7 separate regions of the Homo sapiens genome follow, and regions 1, 2, 3, 5, 6 and 7 are each linked to region 4. The links are contacts of gene promoters, found by promoter capture Hi-C in blood cells and fetal thymus (Javierre and others, 2016). All regions are on one chromosome and are shown on one strand. Each heading gives the region's core, a stretch centred on a gene start or on the middle of the fragment in contact. The rest is flanking DNA. Distances are from core to core; before and after follow the strand shown. Region 1 has its middle 11 kb from the start of WFIKKN2. Region 2 has its middle 14 kb from the start of WFIKKN2. Region 3 holds the start of ANKRD40 (ankyrin repeat domain 40). Region 4 holds the start of SPAG9 (sperm associated antigen 9). Region 5 overlaps ANKRD40CL (ANKRD40 C-terminal like). Region 6 overlaps LUC7L3 (LUC7 like 3 pre-mRNA splicing factor). Region 7 has its middle 17 kb from the start of MIR8059.

Evidence for each region. The method cuts DNA at HindIII sites, captures the fragments that hold promoters and counts their contacts. A CHiCAGO score of 5 or more calls a contact.
Region 1: a fragment that was not itself captured here is called in contact with the fragment with the promoter of SPAG9 in region 4 in 7 of 17 cell types (naive B cells, naive CD4 T cells, total B cells and 4 more); the score reaches 5.6 in naive B cells.
Region 2: a fragment that was not itself captured here is called in contact with the fragment with the promoter of SPAG9 in region 4 in 1 of 17 cell types (total B cells); the score reaches 6.5 in total B cells.
Region 3: the fragment with the promoter of ANKRD40 here is called in contact with the fragment with the promoter of SPAG9 in region 4 in 3 of 17 cell types (naive CD4 T cells, naive B cells and fetal thymus); the score reaches 5.5 in naive CD4 T cells.
Region 5: a contact is called between a fragment that was not itself captured here and the fragment with the promoter of SPAG9 in region 4, in 2 of 17 cell types (fetal thymus and monocytes). The highest score is 5.8, in fetal thymus.
Region 6: a fragment that was not itself captured here is called in contact with the fragment with the promoter of SPAG9 in region 4 in 9 of 17 cell types (naive CD4 T cells, non-activated CD4 T cells, erythroblasts and 6 more); the score reaches 8.0 in naive CD4 T cells.
Region 7: a contact is called between a fragment that was not itself captured here and the fragment with the promoter of SPAG9 in region 4, in 4 of 17 cell types (naive CD4 T cells, fetal thymus, total CD8 T cells and 1 more). The highest score is 6.2, in naive CD4 T cells.

Annotation. Positions count from the first base shown.
Region 1 is chr17:50,844,403-50,847,947 of GRCh38, forward strand. It overlaps the pseudogene RPL5P33. Among named protein-coding and RNA genes, the nearest start is that of WFIKKN2, 11 kb to the left of the region's middle. RefSeq lists an enhancer at 18-543. The HindIII fragment of the contact is 1,512 bases long and covers 1,263-2,774 here.
Region 2 is chr17:50,819,352-50,822,901 of GRCh38, forward strand. No RefSeq gene overlaps it. Among named protein-coding and RNA genes, the nearest start is that of WFIKKN2, 14 kb to the right of the region's middle. The HindIII fragment of the contact is 4,047 bases long and covers 1-3,550 here.
Region 3 is chr17:50,706,594-50,710,122 of GRCh38, forward strand. It overlaps ANKRD40 (ankyrin repeat domain 40), which reads right to left and starts at 1,321. Exons shown (of 5, transcript NM_052855.4): 1 at 928-1,321. The coding sequence starts at 1,061. RefSeq lists silencers at 657-926, 1,057-1,266. The HindIII fragment of the contact is 9,335 bases long and covers 1-3,529 here.
Region 4 is chr17:51,119,581-51,123,570 of GRCh38, forward strand. It overlaps SPAG9 (sperm associated antigen 9), which reads right to left and starts at 1,288. Exons shown (of 30, transcript NM_001130528.3): 1 at 774-1,288. The coding sequence starts at 1,076. RefSeq lists silencers at 541-670, 691-770, 1,021-1,400 and enhancers at 801-920, 1,210-2,024, 1,541-1,770, 2,380-2,639. The HindIII fragment of the contact is 3,961 bases long and covers 1-3,517 here.
Region 5 is chr17:50,761,362-50,765,139 of GRCh38, forward strand. It overlaps ANKRD40CL (ANKRD40 C-terminal like), which reads right to left. Exons shown (of 4, transcript NM_001358683.3): 3 at 2,036-2,196; 4 at 1-145. The coding sequence ends at 2. Among named protein-coding and RNA genes, the nearest start is that of ANKRD40CL, 4.3 kb to the right of the region's middle. The HindIII fragment of the contact is 1,184 bases long and covers 1,252-2,435 here.
Region 6 is chr17:50,723,083-50,726,785 of GRCh38, forward strand. The region is part of intron 1 of LUC7L3 (LUC7 like 3 pre-mRNA splicing factor); the gene reads left to right. Among named protein-coding and RNA genes, the nearest start is that of LUC7L3, 5.3 kb to the left of the region's middle. RefSeq lists an enhancer at 1,854-2,353. The HindIII fragment of the contact is 2,482 bases long and covers 346-2,827 here.
Region 7 is chr17:50,784,067-50,787,795 of GRCh38, forward strand. No RefSeq gene overlaps it. Among named protein-coding and RNA genes, the nearest start is that of MIR8059, 17 kb to the left of the region's middle. The HindIII fragment of the contact is 3,784 bases long and covers 164-3,729 here.

The DNA of each region.
Region 1 (3,545 bases), core at 769-3,268, 270 kb before region 4:
TCCGCCTCCCCCAGCACCTCCAGCCTGCTAGGACACTCTGCTCCATTGTCTAGCCAGCCGCTCCGTAGTCTGATGTCACCCCCCGGACAGTGGGGCTGGAGAGCAGGGATGGGGTGAACCCTGACTAGAGTCCACAGCATCGGTGATTGCCTTAGGCCGTGGGGAACTCCCTCCGTCCCCTTGTCCTATTGTAAAACAGCAGCATGCTTGCGCACGTCCTATGTGCCAGGTACCAGCTCTTGTAAGCTCCACTGCAACTGGAGGAGACAGAAGGCTATTTTGTAGGTAGGAAAACTAAGGCTAGACGGGATAAGAAACTTGCCCCAAATCGGATGAGTGGCAGAGCCAAGACTTGAATCCTGCCAGTCTGACTTCAGAGTTTTTGTTTTGTTTTGTTTTTGAGATGGAGTCTCACTCTGTCACCCAGGCTGGAGTGCAGTGGCATGATGTCAGCTCACTGCAACCTTCGCCTCCCGGGTTCAAGCGATTCTCGTGCCTCAGCCTCCCTGAGTAGCTGGGATTACAGGCGTGTGCCACCATGCCTGGCTAATTTTTGTATTTTTAGTAAAGACAGAGTTTTGCCATGTTGGTCAGGCTGGTTTCGAACTCCTGACCTCCGGTGATCCGCCTGCCTCGGCATCTCAAAGTGCTGGGATTACAGGCATGAGCCACCGCGCCCAGCCCAGAGCTCTTAATGCTCATGTTATGTTGTTTCTCCTAGTGTGCAACACACACACACAAACACACACACACCCTGCTCTGGGCTGGGCAGTGTGGAGTCCTATCAGGACCCCAAATATCTCTAAAGAGACTGCCTCCCATCAGCACACACATACCACTCAGGGCTGTTTACAACCTCACCCTGTGACAAGTATTTCTATCACACACACAAGCAGTCCTGGCCTAGATTCATCAGCCTTCTGCCTACTCATCCTTCAAGACTCAGCTCCTTGGGGAAGCCTCTGCTGTCCCCCGGCTGTGTGAGCACTCCTCTCTGAGTCCCTCTCCCTCTGTGTTTGTGCTGATCCAGATCAGAATCATTGCCTAGGGCCTCCAGGAAGCTGTGGGCCCAGCTCTCAGAGCTCATGGGGGTGCTTGCTGGGTGAAACAGAGGGTCCTGGGACCAGGGGCCACTCAGCGCTGCTGCACTGAACAACCACAAGCCTAGAAGGGGCCTCTCTGGGGTCCTCCCTCTTTTTCCCAGCTCCACCTCATGTTGCCTCCTCCTCCTCCTCTTCCTCCCACCTCTCTGAAGAGTCTGAAGCTTCCCTCCTACTCTGGAGAATTTGTGATTAATGCAGGCGGGATGGGTGGCAGGGTTCCTGGGCCCTATTCTTGGCTGTGGCCTCATTCTGGAATGTGCCCTGAGGTCAGGTGACACTCCTCACTCAGGCTGTGTCAGGAGGAAGGAAGAGTAAACCTCCAGCTGACATCTCCTGAGGGAGAGGGCAGGGTGGGCAGGTGGGCAAGCCCCTCACCCCTCTCCTGCCTGCCTCCCAGGCTCCTGAGGCCCTCGACCCATTTCAGGGTCACGTTGGAGTCCCTGCGGTCCCGTCCCAAATTACCCCGGGACACGGTACTCCACTAGGTCTCCAGCAATACTCTGGCCACCCTCAACCCCACTCGGATGAGGGAAAGCAGAACCCAGCCCAACATAGACTAGCCTCTCCTGGAGGTGGGGCCTCTTCCCAGGTGTCTGTCAGGGGCAAAGGGGGCACTTGCGTGCTTTCGGCCCTTTTCAGGCCTTGAGGACACTGCCAGAGACCCGACGGGAGGAGGTGGACCCATCCAGATAACTTGTTTTCTGTTTTGATGTGAGGGATGCATCCAATTCTGTCCATAGTCTAAGTGAGAGCAGACGACGGTGACTTTATCTCCTTTCTGGGTGGGTAGCCTGGAAGCGAGGAGGGGCCTAGGGTTTTCTCAAGGACCCTGGGCAGGGGAGAAGCACAGTGCCAGGAGTGGGGTGGACATGAGAATGCTAACCCCTGCGCCAGGCACTTTACGTGGACTGCCCGGTTGAATCCTCCCAACCCTCTGAAGGCACCATATTATTTTACTATTTCACCACTTGGCAGATCACACTCTAAGCTGCAACCTTCAGGAGGGCAAAGACCTATACACCAAACACAAGCCTGACCATGTTCATTAAGTGTTTGTCGAATGAATGAATGAATGGGGCAAGCCCTATAGGCTTTATGGAGGAAAAGAGGCCCTCATAGGTGCTATTTTACAGATGCTGAATCGGAGACTCTAAATGTTTAAAGGACCCAAGGCTATAGGGTCATTAAATGAAAGAGCCAAGATTCAAAGCCAAGTCTGTCCGAATTTGGTACCTGTACCCTTATCACGATATTACATATGTATTTTAACCATCGCAGTTAAAGGCTGAGGACCCCAAATGGCGGTTCCCCTTCTAAACACCCATAACCACCACTTCCAACTGGTCCTTGACCTCTGGGAGTACCAAGGGTTTACAGAAATTTTATAAAGCCATACCCTTCAATACTGTTAGTACTGAATTCATGTAAATGAATTTAAATTAAATAAAAACGTAAAATTCATTTCCTCAGTTACGCTAGTTATGGATCAAGTGCCATGTTTCATGTGGCTGGTAGCTGCCATACTGGACAACACAGACAGAATATTTCCAACATTACAGGAAATTCTATTGCACACCCCTGTTACAAAGGATTGACACAAATTTCTCTTTACTCCCATTGTCTCATGACCCTGATCTCAGCCTCAGTATGCCCTCATCTTTTCTCCTGAAAAGCTTATACATCTTTTTTCTTTTCTCTCTTTTTTTTTTTTTTTTTTTTTTTTGGAGATGGAGTTTCACTCTCTTACCCAGGCTGGAGTGCAATGGTGCAATCTCGGCTCACTGCAACCTCTACCTCCTGGCTTCAAGTGATTCTCCTGTCTCAGCCTCCCAAGTAGCTGGGATTACAGGCGCCCACCATCACACCCGGCTAATCTTCATATTTTTAGTAGAGATAGGGTTTCGCCATTTTGACCAGGCTGGTCTCGACCTCCTGACCTAAGTGATCCACCTGCCTCGGCCTCCCAAAGTGCTGGGATTAGAGGTGTAAGCCACTGTGCTTGGCCAGGTTTATATATCTTCATGCAAATAAAGTTCTTGATGGCCTCCCTCAATACCCCAGAGTTCCCAAAAAGGGACACAAATAAGTGCGCACACACACGCAGCACCAGCAGTCATGACACGCAGGTGAAGATGAGTTCTCCAAACTTTTAGCTGAATATGGTAGGGGTGCTGCTGATGGGAAGGAGACAGTGGGAATGAGAGGCTAAGTCCTCCCATGGCACAGCACAGTGCCCATGACAGCTGCCGCCTCCCAGGAATCAGCCTGCCACCAGGCCAGTTATTCAGCAGCTTTTCAGAGACACCTATGCTGCAGCTGTCATCTTGTTTCTTGCATGGAAGTGCTGACTAAAAGTCTAATAATTATTTTGTTAGTGGTCATTGCTGCTATAAGTGTGCTGCATAAATGTTTAAAAAGAGGGCCCAGGGGGCTCTGTTCTGC
Region 2 (3,550 bases), core at 475-2,974, 300 kb before region 4:
AGAAAATGGAGCCAGGATGCGGACTGACTTGGAAGGTAGAAAGAGGCAGGGCTGTTCATGGAGGGGGAATACGGGGTGGAAGGAATGATGTAATGATCTGTTGAGGATAAGAGAGACATGAATGTGTATAAAGGTGGCAGGTATTTGGGAGACAGAAGGCGTAATTGATGGTATAAAGTTCCTAAGGAGGTGGAAAGAAAGGGAAGTGTTGGGATCCAACACATTGTTGGCAGCATTGACCTTAAATAGGAGGGACACCTCCTCAGTTGTAACAGGGTGGAAGGTGGAGAGGGTGTGGTGGGGGCAGGGTGGCTCATTTTACTTGGTGGGGGTCAAGAACATCCATCACTCAGAATTTACTCATGAATGCGGTGACTGGATTTTCAGAGGCACGTGGCCTTGATAGAGGCCTCTCTCTACGTCCTCTCTTTCTTTCACGTCTCCCTCGTGGCAGCCAGACCTGGAGGCACTGTCCCAGTGATGAGTTAGCTGGGGGAGTGTAGGGGCTGGCCACCCTTTCTTTCTGGCCCATCTTCTCCACCTGTGGCAGGACCCTTGGGGAAGGAAGCTGGAAGGTTGAAGCCTGGCCTAAGCCTAAGCCCCAGGGTTCATCAGGGTCTACTATACTAAGGGTCTCTGCATTGGGGGCAGGGCTCAGGCACCAAGATGACTCCCTCCCTGAGAAACCCCAGAGGGAAGGGGATACTCGGGCATTGAGCCCTCACTCCAGCACCCTAACACCTTCTACCCTCAGTGGTGGGGTCTTTGCCTTTCTGATCCTCATGTACCTGAGGCCACAGTGGGCAGGTTGTACCTGCCCTGTGCCCTGCAGGCACAAAGGGGCTGGCTCCCTTGCATGGGCCCCCTCTTTATCCTCCAATTCCCTCCTGTTTTCCTTCTGCTGACTCAGAGTTAGGAACAGAGCCTCTCCAAACTTTGGGAAGCACCTCTCCTGCCATCTACCATGGTGTCTGACTGCTGGACTTAGGGAGAGAAGCGCCTTCCCCCCGGCTCCTCACTGGCAGAAAGTCCTCCTGGTGGCTCCCGATGAATGAGCCTGGCCCATTTTCTGCCCATCCTCTGTACCCAGCAGTGCCCCCAATCATTCCACCATGAAATGTGCAGTAGCTTTCTATCCCTCAACTATTTCATGCTCACTTGGCCCAAATGCGGACAGTCATGGGTTCTTCTGCTTTTGATATGGAAACGCTGGGAAGGGAAGAGCGTGGTCCCTTTAAATGATACGGAACAGCGCAAGGGAAATGTTGGGTAGAGGAAGGTTGTGCTCCCTGGCGAGGGCTCCACCCTCGTGGACCTAGGTTAGGACAGGCACTCCTGCTTTTGCACCCAAATGTTGCATTTCCCAAGACCACCCTGTCCTGCCACACCCCCATCCTGTGCCTATAAAAACCCGAGACCCTAGCAGGGCAGAGACAGAAGCGGCTGGACATCTAGAGGAGTATATTGGCGGTGGGACACACAGGCGGCTGGATGTCAAGAGGAACGCACTGGCACCGGCATCGGCATGCCAGCAGGCCACTGACCAGCAGAAGGACGCAGAGTTTGGCTGGGGCAGTTGGAGGAGAGCCTGGGACACCAAGCGGCCCAACTCCAGAGGAAAACCATCTCCCTTCTGGCTCCCCCATCTGCTGAGAGCTACTTCCACTCAATAAAACCTTGCACTCATTCTCCAAGCCCACGTGTGATCTGATTCTTCTGGTACACCAAGGCAAGAAACCCTGGGATACAGAAAACCCTCTGTCCTAGTGACAAAGTAGTGGGTCTAATTGAGCTGACTAACCCAAGCTGCCTACAGATGGCAAAACTGAAAGAGCACCCTGTAACACACGCTCACTGGAGCTTCAGCTGTAAACATTCACCCCTTGACACTGCCGTGGGGTCAGAGCCCCACAGCCTGCCCATCTGTATGTTCCCCTAGAAGTTTGAGCAGCAGGGCACTGAAGAAGCGAGCCATACCCCCATCGCACACCATCTGAGGGGGACAAAGGAACCTTTCCCGTGAGACTTTTTTTTTTTTTTTTTTTGAGACGGAGTCTCACTCTGTCGCCCAGGCTGGAGTGCAGTGGCGCGATCTCGGCTCACTGCAACTCCTGCCTCCCAAGTTCAAGCGATTCTCCTGCCTCAGCCTCCTGAGTAGCTGGGACTACAGGTGCTCGCCACCACACCTGGCTAATTTTTGTATATTAGTAGAGACAGGGTTTCACCATATTGCCAGGCTGGTCTCAAACTCCTGACCTCATGATCCGCCCACCTTGGCCTCCCAAAATGCTGGGATTACAGGCGTGAGCCACCACGCCCAGCCTCCTGTGAGACTTTCAGTCTGCTTGCTGCAAGCTAGAGCAGTGACTAATATATATTTTCTGTGGTCTACCTCTTCACTTAGCTACATACTGTTTTGTTGTTTCCCTCAAATCGCCACTCCCAAGATCAACCCAAAACAGAGTTCAAAGTGCAAAGCAAGCCTTTCTGAAATAGAAGGCAAAAATCAAAGCCTCCTTCCTGGTGGTGGTGTAGGCATGGGTGAGAGATTCTACCCTCTGAGTCCCACTTGGACTTGTGTGGACTCCCTCCTCTCCAGCCACCCTGGCTGTCTTCCAGTTCCTCCAATGCTCTGTGCCACCTCCCATCTCACAGCCTTTGCATATACTGTCCCCTCTTTGTCCAGCTAACTATGATTTATCCTTCAGGTCTCAGTATTGATGTCACTTCTTCTAGAAGCCCTTACCTGACCTTGCTTTTAATGGGAAATAGGGCTTTTACCCTCTAATGCTGTTCCCCTAGAATCTGAGCTGGCCACATATTTGAAGTCTACTCCAGCCAACATTATGGTCTGGATCATAATCATGGTCTGTTTGCTTAGAGGCTACTGATGGTGCTTTCCTCTAAGCCCACACTCAAGACCCCTGTCATGAGCATTGCTAAGGGCACAGGCTTTGAGAAGAGCCCCAGATGTTCTATCTTATATCCTAAAGAGAATTCTGGCAGGATTCTTGTCTCTGCCTCCTGATTCGTCATGAGCAGTGAAGCTGAGCAGCTGAAACTGGTTTCCACCACAGTTCCCTCATGTCTATTCCATTTGTATATTGCTCTACATTTTATTTTTTGTTTTTAAATAAATTTAAAAGAATTTTATTTTTATTTTTATTTATTATTTTTTTTTGTAGAGACAAGGGTTTCGCTATGTTGCCCAGGCTGGTCTCAAACTCTGGGCTCAAGTGATCCTCCTGCCTTGACCTCTCAAAGTGTTGGGATTGCAGGCGTGAGCCACTGCATCCAGCCTGTATATTGCTCTGTAACAAACTATCCCAAAAGTTAGTGTATAAAACATTTTATTTGCTCATGATCCTATGGATCCGAAGTTTGGGCAGAGTTCAGCTGGGCTGTTCTTCTGCTCTATGTGATGTTAGGTTGGTGCAAAAGTAATTGTGGTTTTTGCCATTACTTTTAATGGCAAAAATATTAGGGATCATTCATTCAACTACCTTATAGGAATCATTCATTTAACTACATAGCTGGTAGCTGGGCTAGG
Region 3 (3,529 bases), core at 71-2,570, 410 kb before region 4:
TATTTGAAATTGTAATAAGAAAACTGGCCAGGAACGGTAGGCTCACATCTGTAATCCCAGCACTTTTGGAGGCTGAGGCGGGTGGATCACTTGAGGCCAGGAGTTTGAGACCAACCTGGCCCCATCTCTACCAAAAATACCAAAAAAAAAAAAAAAAAAAATTAGCCGGGTGTGGGGGCGCGTGCCTGTATTCCCAGCTATTTGGGAGGCTGTGGCAGGAGGATCACCTGAGCCGGGGAGGTAGAAGTTGCAGTGAGCCGAGACTATGCCACTGCACTCCACCCTGGGCGACAGGGCAAGACCCTGTCTCAAAAAAAAAAAAAAAAAAAAAAAAAAAAAGAAAGAAAATAATCGATAGGATAAACAAATGAGTTTTCCCTCAAACAGGCAACTACAGGCAGCAGCAGCAAATCGGTTGCAGTGAAACAACAGAGAAGCAGAATGGTGATGCAAATGTGTTTTTTTTTCCTGGTCTTGGCTAAGGAAATCGTGCTAGTTTATAAAATTCATATTTGCTCAGTTGCTTATGCTTTTAGCTCTGCAAGATGCGTTCTCCAGAAGCACCTACGGCAAATTAACTCAACACTCGAATTGGGGTGAGCTCCAACGCATAGTCGCTGAGAATCACTGCCTCCAGCACCGCTCTGACCAAGTGAGCCGGGAGCGCGGGGGAAGGGGGTAGGGCACCAGAGTCCCAGTGGGCGCTGCCCCGAGTGGACCACGTGGGCCGGGATTTGGGCAGGACGCGCTCCCGACCGCACGAGGCATGGGGGCCAGGGCTGGCCTCAAGAGAGCACAATCTCGGAGGCCCGAGGTGGCAGGCCTCGCCGTAGCCAGGCGTCCCGCGCTGGGCCCAGGTCGCGACTGACTGCCCCACGCCTTCCGACCGGCTGCCCTGACCCTAGGCCTCCCCCGCTCCCCACTTACCAGCCGTTGACCTCATTTTGGGAGTTCACATCCACCCCGCTCTCCACCAGTTTCTGCACCTCCCGAATGTCCCCTAAGGCCGCGGCCTCCCGCAGCCTCTCCTGCTGCTCCTTCTGCTCTAGGAGGGCGTTCATCTTCCCACAGCCCCAGGCCCCCGCCCAGGCCCGCCTGCCCCGCCCCGCCCGGGGCCTGTCAGCGCCGCCGCCGTCGCCGCGGCCCGCTCCCGGCCATGGGGAGGGAGCGCGGAACTCGCCCGCCCTGCTCGCGCCGCTGCCCGCGCCCGCCCCGGGACTTCCGCTCCCTCCCGCGGGCCGCCCCTGCTGCTCCCGGCCCGCAGGCCCAGGCCTCCTCCCGGGCCGCGCCTCCCGAAGGCCGGCTCCGGGGGACCCTGTTCAGTGTGACAACGCTGACCCAGATATTTTCCGTTCCGACCCGGGGCTCCGGCGCCCGGGCTGGCTGTTTATGTAACTACTGCACAATATTATATGCCATGATTCATTGACTATTTTTAGACTTCCCCACCCCGCAGTTTCAAGGGAGGAGGACAAGACACATGAAAAGAGAAAAAAGCATAGCTGAGGGCCAGAAAAGCCTTATCCTCTGGTGCAGGCTGTTTACCAGGCATCCAAAATAATTGGTGGGTTCTTTTTATTGGGATTTGGGGTTTTTTTGTTATTTTCCCCCAGTTTGGTTGGCTCCTTTTCCTTATCTGAGCCAATTCGTGCCCAGCAGGATGGGGAAATGGGCTGAAAACGATCCTACTATAATACGCCCATTATTACAGAGATAGATTAGACTCTTCTTCTTTTTGACAGTGCTTGGGGACAATTCAGTTAGAATATTTATTTCAATTGTTGTTGTTTTACATCTCATTTTAGACAGGATTTCTTCTAACCTGGCTTTCAGGAAAAATATTTATATTGTGCTCACAGTTTATGAACTGTAATTACTGCTTACAGATTGTAATTAGTTACTCTTCATGAAGGCCATATAAGGAGAAAAGAAAGGAAAAACACCAAAGAGGCTTTGGAGGTGTCCTGGTCCTGATTCCAAGTGCTCTGGGAAGAGCTGTGGTGTACATGTAAACAGCATTTTGCTTCACTTCTTGCCCGATCTATCTAATGAGGCTCAGAGCCTCAGTTGGCACTGTTTTATACCCAGTGGGAGAAAAAGGAAATATTGTTTTGTTGAGCCCAGGTGCCCTGAAGAGATCCTCCGATGTGGCACAGGATGGAACTTTACAGATGGGGTCAAGATTAAGGAAATAGCCCTGGGGAGGAAGGGAGGAAGGCCTGAACAAGGAGAGATGAAATAGGAAGGGATAAATTTAGGCATGGAGTTTTCATTTCCGTCTCTTGGGGCTGCTGGGATCTGCACAGCAAGCATTTTTCTTGCTACAGTTTAAGAAAAACCAATGTCTGTTTGTTTAGTATGATACAGTAATTCACACAGTACACAGTGCACACCAGGTGGTGCTGAATATAAACTGACTACACACTTAAATTGACCCCCATGGCAAATTGTAACCCTGCTTGAGCTTACATTTTCATTTGTTCCCCCAATTTAAATTTTAATTCTCACATCCAGCATGATACTCTATCTGAAACTGATGTGTATGGCACTGGATTTGAGTCCTTCAACACAATTTCAGTGACATGGGAGTAGGTAGTGGCTTGTTGTTTTTGTTTGCTTGTTTTTGAGACAGAGTCTCACTCTGTTGCCCAGGCTGGTGTTCGGTGGGGCGATCTCTGAGCTCCTTGCAACCTCTAAGTCCAGGTTCAGGCAATTCTCCTGCCTCAGCCTCCCGAGCAGCTGGGATTACAGGCCTGTGCCACCATGCTCGGCTAATTTTTGTATTTTTAGTAGACATGGGGTTTCACCATGTTGGCCAGTCTGGTCTCCAGCTCCTGACCTCATGTGATCTGCCAGCCTCAGCCTCCCAAAGTGCTGGAATTACAAGCATGAGCCACCGCGCCTGGCCTGTTTTTGTTTTTTTGTTGTTGTTGTTTTTTGTTTTTAATGCAGTTAAAAAAAATTGTTCGTGACTGCACCCCAAAGTCTATGAGTTCTTTTTTTTTTTTTTTTTTTTTTGAGATGGAGGAGTTTCGCTCTCATTGCCCAGGCTGGAGTGCAACAGCGCGATCTCGGCTCACCACAATCTCCACCTCCCAGGTTCAAGCGATTCTCCTGCCTCAGCCTCCTGAGTAGCTGGGATTACAGGCATGTTCCACCATGCCTGGCTAATTTTTTGTATTTTTAGTAGAGACGGAGTTTCTCCATGTTGCTCAGGCTGGTCTCAAACTCCCGACCTCAGGTGATCCGCCCGCCTCAGCTTCCCAAAGTGCTGGAATTACAGGCATGAGCCACCGCGCCCGGCCCCCAAAGTCTATGAGTTCTCTTTATGAGAGTTTGTCAAATGTCCCTTCCTTAAAAGGATTATAGCATGTACCCTACATAACTGCTGTATCCGTGAATATTAGTAGATCTTCTTAAACTCAACCTCTACTTACTCTGATTTCAGTCTTCTGTTTATTATCTTCAGATTAAAAAAAACAAAATTTTATCCACAAACAAAACTTCTGATCTTGGATATAACTGAATG
Region 4 (3,990 bases), core at 38-2,537:
AGTCTAAGAAGGAAACTCAGACGGAAAAAGTGTTGCCAACTGTCACCTACATCTTCCCAACCCCGCCCCCCAATCCTTTTTATAAATAAACGGAGGGTTTTTGAAGGGAACTGTCCAAGGTTACAACCTGATACGGAGGAATGCTTTGGTTTGGGATACCAACGAAATTGTTTATATATTTATTGAGTACTGCCACACAACATCTAAAAGTTGACAAAGTGTCAACCAAGGCACATAGAACATAAAATAAGACGTCTTTCTCAACAAGATTAAAACGTCAAGAAGAAACTGACCGAAAGAGGGAGATCTCTAACTTCCCAAAGCAAGGCAACCCCCTGGAAAGGTACTGGAACTAGCGGAAGTTACATATCCAGGGCAGAAGTGTCCCCCTCCCCAAGGGTAAAACTTTGAACCGCCATCTGACTATCCCACGGTGGTCGGAAACTTCCCTCAACAAGAAGCAACCAGACACCCAACAATCTCCGCCCTTGGCCAACCCCAGGTGTCCTCAGGCCAGGCTGCCGCTTCCTCCCCGGGCCCTGCCTCCTCCATCTCGCTCCCTTCCCAGGACACTCAGTAGCCGGCCTCGGCTTCCAACGCCGGCCTGGCTCCCGGGGTACCTGGAGGCCGCCGGGATCGGTCCCAGGGGGCATCGGCCTCAGGCCCGCCCTCCAGGAGGCCCGTCGCGCCTCTAGTCCCCGACCGGGCCGCGACCCCGCCCCGGCCGCCCCCGGAGACGGATCCCGCGGCCCCCGCCCTGCCGCCGGCCTCACCTCCTCAGCGTGCTTGCGCAGCGCCTTCTCCCGCTCGTACTGGGTGATGAGCTGCTCGTTGTCGTCCCGCAGCAGCTCCAGCTCCACCTGGTGCTCCTGGTCCTGCGCGAACACCGAGTCCAGGTTCTCCAGCACAGCCACCACCAGCGGCATCAGCTCTTTGACCACCTCCTCGTCATAGCGCCCGATAAGCCGCTCGAACTCGCGGTAGATGGAGCCGGCCAGGCCGGACACCCGCTCCGACATCACGGCCCCGGAGCCGCCGGGCTCCTCCTGATACACCACACCGTCCTCCAGCTCCATGGTGGCAAGCGGACGGGCGGGCGGCCCGGGGCGTCGCCGGCAGAGGGGCGGCACCTGCCCGCACGGGACGGACCCGACTCGGGCTGGGACGGGTACTAGGGCTGGAGCCCGGGCCGGGGCTGGGGCTGGGCCCGGCGGGGTGGGGGCCGGGGCCGGAGGAGGGGAGGGGTGGCGTAGGCGCTCTCACCCCAACCGCCGCTGCACCAACTGCCGGGGCGGCCCGGCCGCGCGCGCCACACGTCATCCGCGGGGCGGGGCCGGCGCCGCGTCGGCCCGATGGGCGGGGCGCCGCGGGAGGCCAGGCGCGGCCGGGGGCGGGGCCAAGCGTCTTCGGGCGCTGGCGGAGGAAGCCATGGCGTCAACACCCGGCGCCGCGAAGACGGTGCGGGCGCCAATGGGAAAGACTGCGGTCGGCGGGTGGGGAGAAGTATCCATCCACAGCGGGATTCGCGGGGCGGGTCCCAGGGGAAAGGGAGGGGTTCGGGAAGAGTGACGAGTTAACTTAGCTGGCATTTCTATGGCTTTTTAAAGCTCACAAAGCACCTACTCACTTCATCCCCACAACAGGCGTAAAGAGGTAGATATTTGGACCTCGTTTCACAGACAAAGAAACTAGGCCCAGGAAAGTGGCGTTGCTCTCAAGGTCACGCAGCTACAACGGGAAACGGGCTGAGCCGGGACTCAAACCAATTACCCAGATTGAGAATTCCGGGCTCCGAAAAAAACTGGAAACAGAAAGGGAGGGAAAAAAAACCATAACCAGGGTCTGCCCAAGTGGAAAGGTGGTCTCGAATAGAATAGAACTGTTTTGTGCTATGGAAGAGCAAGGGTGAGATGAGGGGAAATGGGAGTGACTGCTAATAGGTATGGGATTTCGTTTTGGGATAATAAAAATGTTCTAAAAAATGTATTATAGTGATGAATACACAACTCTAAATATGCTAAAAGACATTCAACTTTACACGTTAAGTGAGTGAATCATATGGCGTGTGAATTATATCTCAAGTTATTAAAAAATAAACAGGAAGGGTGATAGCATTCTGGAGAAGGGTGAAACTGGAACGTTACATGTGGCACTTTCCCACATAGTGTGTCTGCTACTTCTGGCCAACTTGGGACGGGGACATTTCCAGGCTCCAGCCACCCTCCTCTCCTCAAGTCTTGAAGTGGGGCGGAAAGGGTAAGTGGGAGGTTGGGGAACAGAGGAGGTAAGGGGTGGAGTCACTGGAGTGAATAAGTCCCATGACAAGTGAGGTTTCTGCCGCCTGGGAGAGTGTCACGTGTGGGGAATGACACAACGCCCACGCCTAGAGCGGGCTGAGTCAAGGATCCCGGTGTGCTCATCTAACGTCCGCAAATGGGACGGAAGACACTCTCAAAAGTCCCTTCTCTGTGTCTCAGGTGACTCAGCTCTCCGTCCCGACTCGTTTAAGAAAAGGGGGAGGAAAGGCAGGATAAACATAGGTTTAAGGGGAGAATTGGCCACCCACCGGGATCATAACTACCCTTAGCTTGGGGTTTACAAGTTTAAGTACTTCCCACCAAGTATGAAGTAGTCCCCTAAAGTTTCCTACGCATGACCCACCTGGAGACCCATAAAAACAATATGAAGGTTGGGCAAGAGTAAACCTATAAATTTGGAAGGACAAAGATGAAAATACTAAGTCTTATGAAGTGCCAGATGGGACTGAATTTGCGGCCTGTGTTTTTTCCCGTTCTCACCCTCACCCCACATTCACCCTTATGTCATTTAGATATTTGGGTAGTAGGAATGCCGACCAGCTGGTTGGCTGTGAGCCGCAAATGCCCTTTCTCTTCTTAACCTTTCATATTTGAAAACTAGAAAAAGTCTTGATCTGAATCTCTCCTCTTTTATTTTCTCTTCCTGAGGGCTGTCACTCACCTGGTCTACCTATATGCATGCCTCTCTTTTCCTGGGGGATCAGAAGAGCCAAAAAACATAGGGCAAGGCTTTACTTTTTCTTTCCACAATATTATCATACACATCAAAAAATTTAAAGAAAAAAGTATCAGCCGGGCGTGGTGACTCATGCCTGTAACCCAGCACTTTGGGAGGCCGAGGCGGGTGGATCACAAGGTCAGGAGTTCAAGACCAGCCTGAACAATATGGTGAAACCCCATTTCTACTAAAAAGTACAAAAATTAGTCGGGCATGGTGGTGCACACCTATAATCCCAGCTACTCAAGAGGCTGAGGCAGGAGAATAGCTTGAACCTGGGAGGCGGAGGTTGCAGTGAGCAGAGATCACACCATTGCACTCCAGCCTGGGCGACAGAGTGAGACTCCATCTCAAAAAAAAAAAGAAAAAAGAAAAAAGTATCGATTTTTCAAGTACGAGATTTTAATTGTCATTCCTAATAAGTATACTTCTTTAGGTATACGTTCAACATAGAAAGATACACACTTATGTCTTGATTTTAAGCTTCTGCCAGTTATCAGAGATAACATTTAGTTAAAATAAAATTCAGCTAAATAACCATCAGCTGATGAATGGATAAAATGTGACATAGGTATACAATGGACTATTATTTGGCAATAAAAAGAAAGTCGTTGGAGGGGAGGGGAGTAGGCGTGGTGGCTCGCGCCTGTAATCTCAGCACTTGCAAGAGGATGGCTTGTGCCATGAGTTGGAGACCAGCCTGGGCAACATAGTGAGACCTTCATCCCTGACAAAAAAAAAAAAAAAAATTTTTTTTGGCCAGGCACGGTGGCTTACACCTGTACTCCCAGCACTTTGGGAGGTCGAGGCGGGCGGATCACCTGAGGTCAGAGGTCAGATGTTCAAGATCAGCCTGACCAATATGGAGAAACCCTGTATCTACTAAAAATACAAAATTAGCCGGGCGTGGTGGCCCGCACCTGTATTCTTAGCTACTCAGGAGGCTGAGGCAGG
Region 5 (3,778 bases), core at 594-3,093, 360 kb before region 4:
TTTAATAAGTCATTTTTGCAGCTTTGCTATCATAGCAGGGCCTTTCTGTCAGAGATGGCACATATTCTGTCAATCTGGAGCTTCCATTTTTCATTAAAATGAGTTCCACTTCCTGAAAGTCCCGCAGTCTTCGAATGTCTTTGTCCTTAATGTAGAAAAGAAATTATATTATGCTTAATAAATTTGAATGTAATAGAAAACCTTAATATTAATATTGTTCAGCATCTTGGGTTCTGAACCCATAAGGTATTGTTTTTTTTGAGACAGAGTCTTGCTTTTGTCGCCCAGGCTGGAGGGCAATGATGCGATCTTGGCTCACTGCAACCTCCGCCTCCCAGGTTCAAGTGATTCTCCTGCCTCACTTGGCTCACTGCAACCTCAGCCTCCTGAGTAGCTGGGATTCAGACATGCGCCATCATGCCCGGCTAATTTTTGTATTTTTTATAGAGACAGTTTTCACCATGTTGGCCAGGCTGGTCTTGAACTCCTGACTTCAGGTGATCTGCCCACCTGGGCCTCCCAAAATGCTGGGATTACAGGTGTGAGCCACTGCGCCCGGTCCCCATAAGATAGTTCTGTATTTTTTTTTTTGAGACAGGGTCTCGCTCTGTCACCTAACCTGGAGTGCAGTGGCACAGTCACAGCTCACTGCAGCTTCAACCTCCTAGGCTCAAGCAATCCTTCCACTTCCACTGCAGCCTCCCAAGTCTACTACACCCAGCTAATTTTTGTATTTTCCTGTAGAGACAGGGTTTCACCATGTTGCCCAGGCTGGTCTCAAATTCCTGAGCTCAAGCAATCCGCCCACCTCGGCCTCCCAAAGTGCTGGGATTACAAGCATGAGACACCACACCCAGCAGATTTTTGTTGTTAAGGTATCTGGAAAGCATGATCATCCCTTGACATGTTAGTTTACAAAGAATATACACTATAAGCCAAGACACCAGTAAGGATTGCCAAAGGAACAGCAGCTCACCACCTGTTATCCCAGCACTTAGGAGGATGAGGCCAGGGGGTTGAGAACAGCCTGGGCAATATAGCCAGACCCATTTCAAAAAAAAGAAATTAATGGAGTGTGGTGGTGTGTCCCTGTAGTCCCAACTACTCTGGAGGCTAAGATGGGAGGATCACTTGAGCTGAGGATTTCGAGGCTGCAGTGAGCTATGATCACGCCATTGCATTCTATTGTGGGTGACAGAGACCCTGTCTCAAAAAAACAAAAAACAAAAAAATTGCCAAAGGAATTTTGAAAGCTTTAAAGAAAAATTTCCAAAGAAATAAGATTTCCTTTCCAAAATTAAAAATTAAGATCTGTATTTTAAATCTGGGAAATATATAAAAATGCAAAACAATTTTTGTTTGCTAATATTTCAAATACTTAGCAAACCCACCCTTTGCTAAGCAAACAAGGATGGGTTTGTGTTTTTTTTTTTCCTGAGGACTATGCCATTTTATGTTAACCAGTCAATTTTGCAGAGATTGGTGGGGCCAAAAGCACTGAACTAAAGCCTTAAATTGGGGAGTCACTTGTCATTCAGAGGTTTGTTTTTTTTTGAGACAGGGTCTAGCTCTGTCGCCAGGCTGGAGTGCAGTGGTGCTATCTCAGCTCACTGCAACCTCCTCCTCCTGGGTTCAAGCAATTCTCCTGCCTCAGCCTCCTGAGTAGCTGGGATTACAGGCACGCGCTGCCATGCCCAGCTAATTTTTGTATTTTTAGTAGAGACGGGTTTTCACCGTGTTGGCCAGGATAGTCTCGATCTCTTGACCTTGTGATCTGCCCACCTCGGCCTCCCAAAGTGCTGGGATTGTACTGGTGTGAGCCACCGTGATCGGACCATTTAGAGGTTTTTAAAAGGTTTATGGATTAGATGTGCAAATCTTAAAAGCGCCAGATTGAAAATGACCTAGCTACCATGTTTGGCCGTTTTGCAGCCAGGATTTCTGGTGTCATGAAATGCAGAAGTGTAAACGATTGGCTCCAGAGAACATGATGTCACCCACTGTGATTCTGCATTTAGAAACTCTTAACCCTTACCTTTCTGAGCAGTGTGTTTGGTAGCTTTCTGATCTTCTCCACTCGTTCTGGTTTAATCCCCAGTTCACAGCAACTCACGTTTAGTAGGTTTTGGTAACTCAGTTCTTGTCTCTTCAGTTCAATTTCAATGAAGTCATTTTCTTTGGGGTTCTGAATTCTGACTTTAAACACAAGCTCTAAATCACCCATAAATTCAAATACAGTTTGTAAAGGAAACAAAATACCTGTCAGAGATTTTCATATCTATTATTACAGCATAAATAATCCTAAAAACTGAATGTTAAGTAGACATGGAGCTTTCATGGGCACATACACACTTTGCATTAGCTGAGGGTTCTTTTCTTGGAGTGTTGGGCAAGCTCTGGGATGTATGCCCCCATTATATCCACTGAAGACAGAAAGCTTGCAGCTTTAAGCCAGCCAAGGATTTAAAATATGCAATGGATATTTAAACACATCACCCTTGGGCAATACATAGCAGGTGCTCATACCTTGTTGCTTATCTGGAAAGCTTCAGGGAAATGTATAGCCCTGGGGGCCCTGGTGTCCTTAAAGAAGCTATTGTGCAGAGGAGCAAATCGCTCTTGAGATTCCTACCCACCACCCCCACTCCTCCAGAAATAGGATAATTCTACCATCTTTCAGGACAGTGGCATTGTATTCCAACTTAACTGTCCTGAGAAGATACAGTATGAACTAAAAGTCCAAATGGAAAGCAGATGGTCAGTTTGGCTTTGCAACCTGGTCACATAGGGGCTGAGTCTTCACCTAGACAGGTGTCACTGGGTTTCTTGTTATCACTTGGGTCCGTTGTTGGCAAGTGTGGATTTGTGCCTTCTTGTTTATATTCACCTGGGAATCAGGAAAGAGTTGAGAAGGAGCAGTACCTGACCAGTTGGCTGTCTGCCAGACAAAGGACAAGGATGCCCCACTTCCACTTCCTGCCCTGCAGCTTATCCTCCCCTTCTCAAGGGAAAAGGCAAGTCAGGAAAAGGGCAGTAATGACTTTCAGTCTTGAAGAGTAATTTTCTTTAATCACCACCCAAATCATGAAAAGGAGCTGAGACAGTATTTTTAAATGGTGCGTAATCTGGGGAAGAAATATTTATAATCTCTGTGCTTAGCTCAAGTTTTTACTTAAATATTTTTGGCACAGAGTGCTTTATGTCTTCAGTTCTCTAGCAGAGATACAGTTAGGAGGGTGTCTTTATAAGGAGAAATTTTCTCACCCAGAGGGAAGGGAAAGGAGTGAATATTTAGAGTGCTTTGCATATGCCAGGCCTTTTGTGTATTTCTTTCTTTCTTACAATATCCACTGAACATGTTGAAAGCCTGCTTTGCACCAGGCACTGGGCTAAGCCCTGGGGAAATCATGTTCAAAAATCCCAAAGATGTCTCTGTGCTCCTGGAGTTTGCAGGCCAGCAGAAGAGACAGATATTAATAAATGGGAAATCACAGTTGTCGGGGCATGATGAATGTGAAATACACAGTACTTTGAAAGCATGTTAGGGGTCAAGGGAGGCCTCCATGAAGGTTGATTATTTGAGCTGACATCTGAAGGATGAATAGGCTTCACTAGATCCAGAGGGCAGAGGAGGTGAAGAGCTTTTCACAGGGCCCTGTGGAGAGTTCAGCATGGCTGCAGGGCAGAGAGCATGGGGGGACTGAGTGTCAGACAGGCTGGCAGGGGCCAGTTAGTCCAATTATGTAGCTTCTTGTCACATGAGATAAGATACACGATA
Region 6 (3,703 bases), core at 337-2,836, 400 kb before region 4:
TAGCCATATTATTAGAAGATTGTAGTAAATTGTAAAGTCTGATCGGGAGTTTTGTTATTTTTTATGTAGCAAGACAGAAATTTTGTAGTTCAAATTGAGGTTTTTATATTCTAGATCTCAACCTGAAAATGAAATTACTTAATCATTAACACTGATTCTAATATCTGAAATGAGTTTTCTTCCATTTATCAAACTCAAGCCTACCCTTCCTTCCATGAAGGTTTAACATGAAGGTTTAATAATTTATGAAGGAAATTGAACTATGTTCTTTTCTAAAATCTTTGGAATGTTAGCAGATACTGTCATTGACACTGAAAAGTTGTTTAGAAAAGGAAAAATAGCTAAAGCTTCTGTCCACATTTTTTACTTGTATACTTTTTCTTTTTGCTTTAAAAATGTTCAGAATTTGGGAGCAAAAATTGAAAGCAAAAAACTAGTAATTATAATGCATGATGGCATCTATTAATATGTATTTTACTAGTTTTCATTCAGAGTCACCAAAATGTTCATAGTAACTTACTATGTTACTATGGAGTAAGATAGAAAAGCATTTTCTACCCTGCTCCCTGCCCCCCCCCCTTTTTTTTTTTGAGACAGAGTCTAGCTCTGTCACCCAGGCTGGAGTGTAGTGGCATGATCTTGGCTCACTGCAACCTCCACCTCCTGGCCTCAGCGTCCCGAGTAATTGGGATTGCAGGTGTGGGCCACCACGCCCGGCTAATTTTTGTATTTTTAGTCGACAGGGTTTTGCCATATTGGCCAGGCTGGTCTTGAACTCCTGACCTCAAGTGATCGGTCCGCCTCAGTCTCCCAAAGTGCTGAGGTTACAGGCGTGAGCCACTGCGCCCGGCTGGCATTTCCTACCTTACTCCATAGTAAAATAGTAAGTGTTGGCTTCTCAGAATTGCCAGCAGTCCATGTGTTATATGTGTATGTAATTGCTATTTGCTTTTCTTCCCAAAACATACAGAATTAGAGTGAATAGTATAATAAATTGAACTCCCCATGTACCCATGCCCAATTTAGCAATATTAGCACATAGTCAATATTATTTCCTCTGTATCCCTTCCATTATTTTGAAGCAATTCTGTTATTGTCAACCTTAAAGCGGTCATTGTATATCTGTAAAATACAAGGACTTTAAAAAAAAAACATAGCCGACCGGGCATGGTGGGTCACCTGTAATCTCAACATTGGGAGGCCAAGGCAGGCAGATCACTTGAGGCCAGGAGTTCGAGACCAGCCTGGCCAACATGGTGAAACCCTGTCTCTAATAAAAAATAAAAAAATTAGCTGGGCGTAGTGGTGCATTCCTGTAATCCCAGCTACTCTGGAGGTTGAGGCAGGAGGATCCTTTCAACCCAGGAGGCAGAGGTTGCAGTGAGCCGAGATGGTGCCACCACAGTCCAGCCTGGGCAACAGAGTGACACTCTGTCTCAAAAAAAAAATAGAATAAAATAACCACAATACCATAATCACTGAAAATTATAGTAAGGTATTTCGTAAATCTTTGGTTGCTTTAGGAAAATTGTGTGTGTGTGTGTGTGTGTGTGTGTGTGTGTGTCATTATATATGTTATTAGCCTTGATTTCCTCACAAAAGGAGAAGGTAGCTTAAGTTTGTAAATTTGACTTTTTTGCTAATACAGTTCTTCGTTTTATGAAATATTTTCTCTTTTTTTTTTTTTTTTTACCCCCGAGATGGAGTCTTGCTCTGTTGCCCAGGTTGGAGTGCAGTGGTGTGATCTCAGCTCACTGCAACCTCCACCTCCCGGGTTCAAGCGATTCTCCTGCCTCAGCCTCCAGAGTAGGTGGAATTACAGGTGCATGCCACCATGCCTGACTAATTTTTGTGTTGTTGTAGAGATGGGGTTTCACCATGTTTGCCGGGCTGGTCTTGAACTTTTGACAACAAGTGATCCTCCCTCGGCCTCCCAAAGTGCTGGGATTACAGGGGTGAGCCACCATGCCCAGCCTTTCTCTTCATTTCTTATAGTAAGTTAGGAAAATTGTTGTATTCATTTATCCAACAAAAATGTATTGCTCGGCTGGGAGCGGTGGCTCACGCCTGTAATCCTAGCACTTTGCGAGGCTGAGGCGGGTGGATCACCTGAGCTCAGGAGTTTGAGACCAGCCTGGCCAACATGGCGAAACCCTGTCTCTACTAAAAATACAAAAATTAGCCAGGTGTGGTGGCGCACGCCTGTAATCCCAGCTACTCGGGAGGCTGAGGAAGGAGAATCGCTTGAACCCGGGAGGTGGAGGTTGCAGTGAGCCGAGATCACGCCACTGCATTCCAGCCTGCGTGACAGGAGCAAGACTCCATTTCAAAAAAAAAATTAAAAGTATTGCTCTTAGGTAGATAACAGCAGGATAGTACAGATACAGCACTTGGTCCTAAAGAGCCATCATGTATTGGTGACAGTAAATGCACTTTTTTTTTCCAATGGGGATTATTCCAATTGAATGTAAACGCATTTCCATAACAGAATATGATAAATCCTACCATTGGGAAAAGTAAAATTGACCCTTGAACAACACGGGTTTGAGTTGAGTGTGTCCATTTATACGTGGAGTTTTTTCAATAAATATATTGGAACATTTTTTGGAGATTTGCAACAATTTGAAAAAACTTGAAGACGAATCACATAGCTTAGAAATATTTTTAAAATTTAAGAAAAGATAAGTACATCACAAATACATAAAATAGATGTATATACTAGTTTATCATTTTCCTACCACAAAATACATACGAATCATAAAAAGTTAAACTTTATAAAAACTTATGCACACAGTACATGGTGCCACTAGCAGTCCAGAGAAAGTAAAGCTTGAGTAATAACTGCATAAAATTAACTATAGTACATACTGTAATACTGTAATAATTTTGTAGCCACCTGTTGCTATTACAGTGAGCTCAAGTGTTGCCAGGCTCCACTTAAAATGCCCTATGACCTGTGACTCTTGATAATCTCTGCATGAGCAGTTGGTGTCTAAAGTAAATTGCATATCACAGTAAAAAATTATCCCTTGGTTCTTGTGTATTTTCATCATTGTTTATTGCAATACCGTATAAACTTGTTGTTTTGCTTTTTGTTGTTGTTGTTTTTGAGACAGTCTTGCTCTGTCGCCCAGGCTGGAGTGCAGTGGTGCCATCTCGGCTCACTGCAACCTCTGCTTCCCAGGTTCAAGCAGTTCTCATACCTCAGCCTCCCAGGTAGCTGGGATTACAGCCGTGTACCACCATGTCTGGCTAAGTTTTGTATTTTTAGTAGAGATGGGGTTTTGTCATGTTGGCCAGGCTGGGCTCGAACTCCTGGCCTTAAGTGATCCGCCCACCTTGGCCTCCCAAAGTGCTGGGATTAGAGGTGTAAGCCACAGCGCCTGGCCTATGTACAATACCATGACCTTTGAATAACGCCCTGAGACCCATACGAAGTGCAGCTAGTGACATTGGAAGTGCTCCGAAGAAGCAGAAAAGTCATGACAGTACAAGAAGTTAAATTGCTTGATATGTACGATAGACTGAGATCTGCACCTGGGGTTGCTGGCATTTGAGACAATTCATCTTTTGTATACAGATGACCTAAACTTAGGGTATTGATAAATACAGCACTGTAAATGTGTTTTCACATTTTTTTCTCTAGCTTACTTATAGTTATTTTTTTCCCTAAACATTCTACAGTGCACATCTCTAGCTTACT
Region 7 (3,729 bases), core at 806-3,305, 330 kb before region 4:
TGCCTGGTATACAGTAGGTGCCTAATAAAAGCAAGTCACTTTACAAGAGTTCAAAGTCCGTCCCTCCACAACTCTCCCTAAAGCTCTCCAGGCCTGTCTGTTTTCTTAGGTAATGGGTTGGCACCCAGGTTACATGGGGGTGAGATCTCCTTGTAGGGGCACAAGCTTCATGGGTTACAAAGTCAGAAGTGTGAATGTTTCTATTTTCTATAATTGACTTGGATTTCCACCTCCATTTCCCATGTTGCACGATGTGGAAACATTTTTATTACAGAATTCAGGGTTTCCTCAGTCAATTCTTTTTTTTCTGCGACGGAGTCTTGCTCTGTCACCCAGGCTGGAATGCAGTGGTGCGATCTCTGCTCACTGCAACCTCTGCCTCCTGGGATCAAGTGATTCTCCTGCCTCAGCCTCCCGAGTAGCTGGGATTACAGGCATGTGTCACCATACCTGGCTAATTTTTGTATTCTTAGTAGAGACATGGTTTCACCATGTTGGCCAGGCTCGATTCCAACTCTTGACCTTGTGATCCACCCGCCTTGGCCTCCCAAAGTGCTGGGACTACAGGTGTGAGCTACCACGCCTGGCCTCTTCAGTCAATTCTAAGTTTTTGCCTCCCCCTTTGCCCTGGGGTCCCAGCTAATGGTGTCAGCAGGGAGAGGGCTCTGATCTTGGTCGTTCTCGTTTTCTCTGCTGGTATCTGTAAAGATGGTCTCTGGCCCTATCGGGCATCATTTGCTGATTTCCGTTCTCACTGGATTCATTACTGCCCGTGTCCATCCCATCAGCATTCACCATGAGGGCCCGCGGCCCACCTGGCCTCCTTGTTATACCATCCTGATCCTGAGCTTCATGTGGTCCCAGAACCCTCTCTCAGCCACTTCAATGGGAAACTGTGGGGAGGGGTTTGTCTCAGGCCCTCTCTGCCCAGACAAGCCACAGCAGCATGTCTCCTTACGTGTAGAGACATGAGGGTGTTCTGGGAGATGGTACCTCAGTGCCTTCACCAGGAAGTGCCTTCACCACTGCGCCCCTCTACTCCCTGAGCTCTGCAGTGCCCCTACTGCAGCCCAGACAACAGGGCTGGAGTGGGGAGGAGAGAGCCATCGTGTGATCAGTGTTTTTACTGAGGCAAGGACCTCAACTTTGAAGCTAGTATCCAAGACCTAGCTCCACTGGCTTCTCTTCATTTCTTCTGAAACATTCCTGCCCCAAGGACATCCTTGCTGCCACCTGCATTGGGGCGGGGCGGTATGACATGCTAGAGAAAGAAGCCTGGTTAACATTTCCTAATCTAGCTTGGCACATCTTTTGCCCTGTTTTCAGGGTACTCCTAGTACAGACTGACACATGCCCGCCCCATAGCACCCTAGGGAAGTTTATGCTCCCAGTAATGAGTAGGGCAGAGCCAAGGTGGTGGATGAGGTTTTCTGAGGGTTGGTACTCAGCCCCTTCTGGGAGGGGAGACGATCCTGGTTGTAAACAATAGAAAACAACCCTGGTTAACTATAGCCCAAAAATAATTTTCTGGAATGATGATGGATGGTTCATAGAGTCACAGGGTAAACTGGAACCAGCCTGACAAATTGGGCAGGAACCCAGAAGGCTGGGAGGCAGAATCACAGGGAGGGTCTTATGAGGACAATCATGCCAACCTCACAACCATCACTGCCCTTTGATGGTGGCAGCTGGGACCCCAACATTAGAGGAGTGACACCTCAATGGTCCCAGCTTCTCAATAACCCTCAGTCAGTGTCAAAGTCCTAGGCAGGATGAACCAAGGCTGAGTTCCCAAGCACCCCCTGCAGGAATTGGATCTTTGGCCCCCTTAGGCTTCCATAGGGGGAACACTGCCTCCAGCCCATCTTGAGATTTGTATCCTCCCCTCTCGATTGGTATTTGGATGACAAGCAACTAAAATCAGCAAATGCACACATCTCTCTAATTTCCCTGAATGTGCATTTGCCAAGAGGCAGTTTCAAACCTGCCTCATTTGAGCAGTCTACTCAGAGTGCTGTTTGTTTATGCCACTCGGAGAGCTTGCCAAATACAGTGAAGTCATCTGAACAGCCTGAGCGCTTCCAGATAAATACATTGGCCTCCTTTCCATGGCCCCCATAGTAGCTAACATGTACTGAACAGTGGGCCAGGCACTGAGCTCAGCGCTCTACCTGGAGGATTGCCTTGGGCCTTACTGCCATTTTTCCAAGGAAGAGACTGAGGCCCAGTGGTTTACTAGCTTTCCCCAGTTCACACAGGTCTAGATGGGAATAACAGGGACTTGACCCCACACAGCCTGTCGGGCCCTGCTCCCTGGTGATCTAATGGAGCAGACGTTAAACCAATAACCACAGGATTACGTACGTGATTAAAAGGAGCACTGGAAAGGGAAAGAACAGGGTAGGAGGAGGGAGGATGGCAGAGAAGACAATTCATAGGGGTGGGGTGGGTGGGGGTCCCGGGAAGGCCTCTGGAAGAACATTTAAGCTGTGACCCAAATGATGGATTTAGCCAGGCCAAGAGCGAGGGGAAAGAGGCAGTGGCAAGTACCGAGACCTCTGAGGCAGGAGAGAGGGGAATGTGTTCGGGGGATGAAAACAAGGGCCAATGCAGCGGGAGCAGAGGGAGCTGGGGATTTCTGGGTGGGGCCATCAGGCAGGGCCAGGCTGAGCCTTGGTGTTCTTCAGCTCAGAACCCCTCACCTCCTCTCACTGACCCCCACCCCATCCTCTGAGATCCGACCTCACAGCATAGTCAGATCCAACCTCTTCTCCCCACCTCCGCTGCGGCCACCCTAGTCTGATTATTGCAATATCCCCTCCCATTCCCACTGGTCTCCCTGCTTCTGCACCGCCCCCATATCTCTTCTTTCTCAGCAATAAAGTGATCCTTTTAGCATGGAAGTCAGAGCTTGCCAGGCCTCTGCTTCTCATTTTGCTTAGAGTAAGTGCCTAAGTCTTGCAATGGTCTACAAAGCCCTCCACAGTCTGGATCCCAGGAGCTCCTGCAACGTGGTCCCCTCTCTCACTTGGCTGTAGCCCCACTGGCCCTGTGCTCCTTCTCAAGTACACCAGGCAAGCCCCTATCTGGAAGGAGGGCCTTTGCACTGCCCGTTCCCTTGGCCCGGAATGTTCTTTCCTCACATATCCATGGGTCTCTCATCCTTCAGCAGGCCTGCCCGGGCATGTTCTCATAGTGGAGCTCAGGGCAAGAACAGATGGAGATGCTAAGCCCTCTTCTGCCTGCCTCCGGTCTGCTAACATCCTGCTGGCCACAGCAAGCACGTGGCTGAGCCCAGAGTCTGAGTGGGAGGGCACCAGGATGGTAGATGCACACGGTAAAGACACAGGGAGTAAAGCACTGGGGCCCTTGCACACATGATTACAGCCCCTTGATCTGAGCTCCAAATCCCAGGCCTCCTCCTGCACAGCGACCTGCCACCATCAGTAACTCTCTCCACCAGCCACCATCCCATTTTCATTCAGCAAACATTTGTGGAGCACCTGCAGTGTGCAGGCCCTGTTCTAGACACTGTGAGGCAGCTGCACATAAAGTAGACGAAGGCCCTGCCCTTTTAAAGTTTTGTTTTGTTTTTTTTTCTTTTTTTTTTTTTTCGAGACAGAGTCTCTCTCTGTCGTCCAGGCTGGAGTGCAGTGGTGCGACCTCGGCTCACTGCAATCTCTGCCTGTTGGGTTCAAGTGATTCTCCCATCTACTCGGGAGGCTGAGG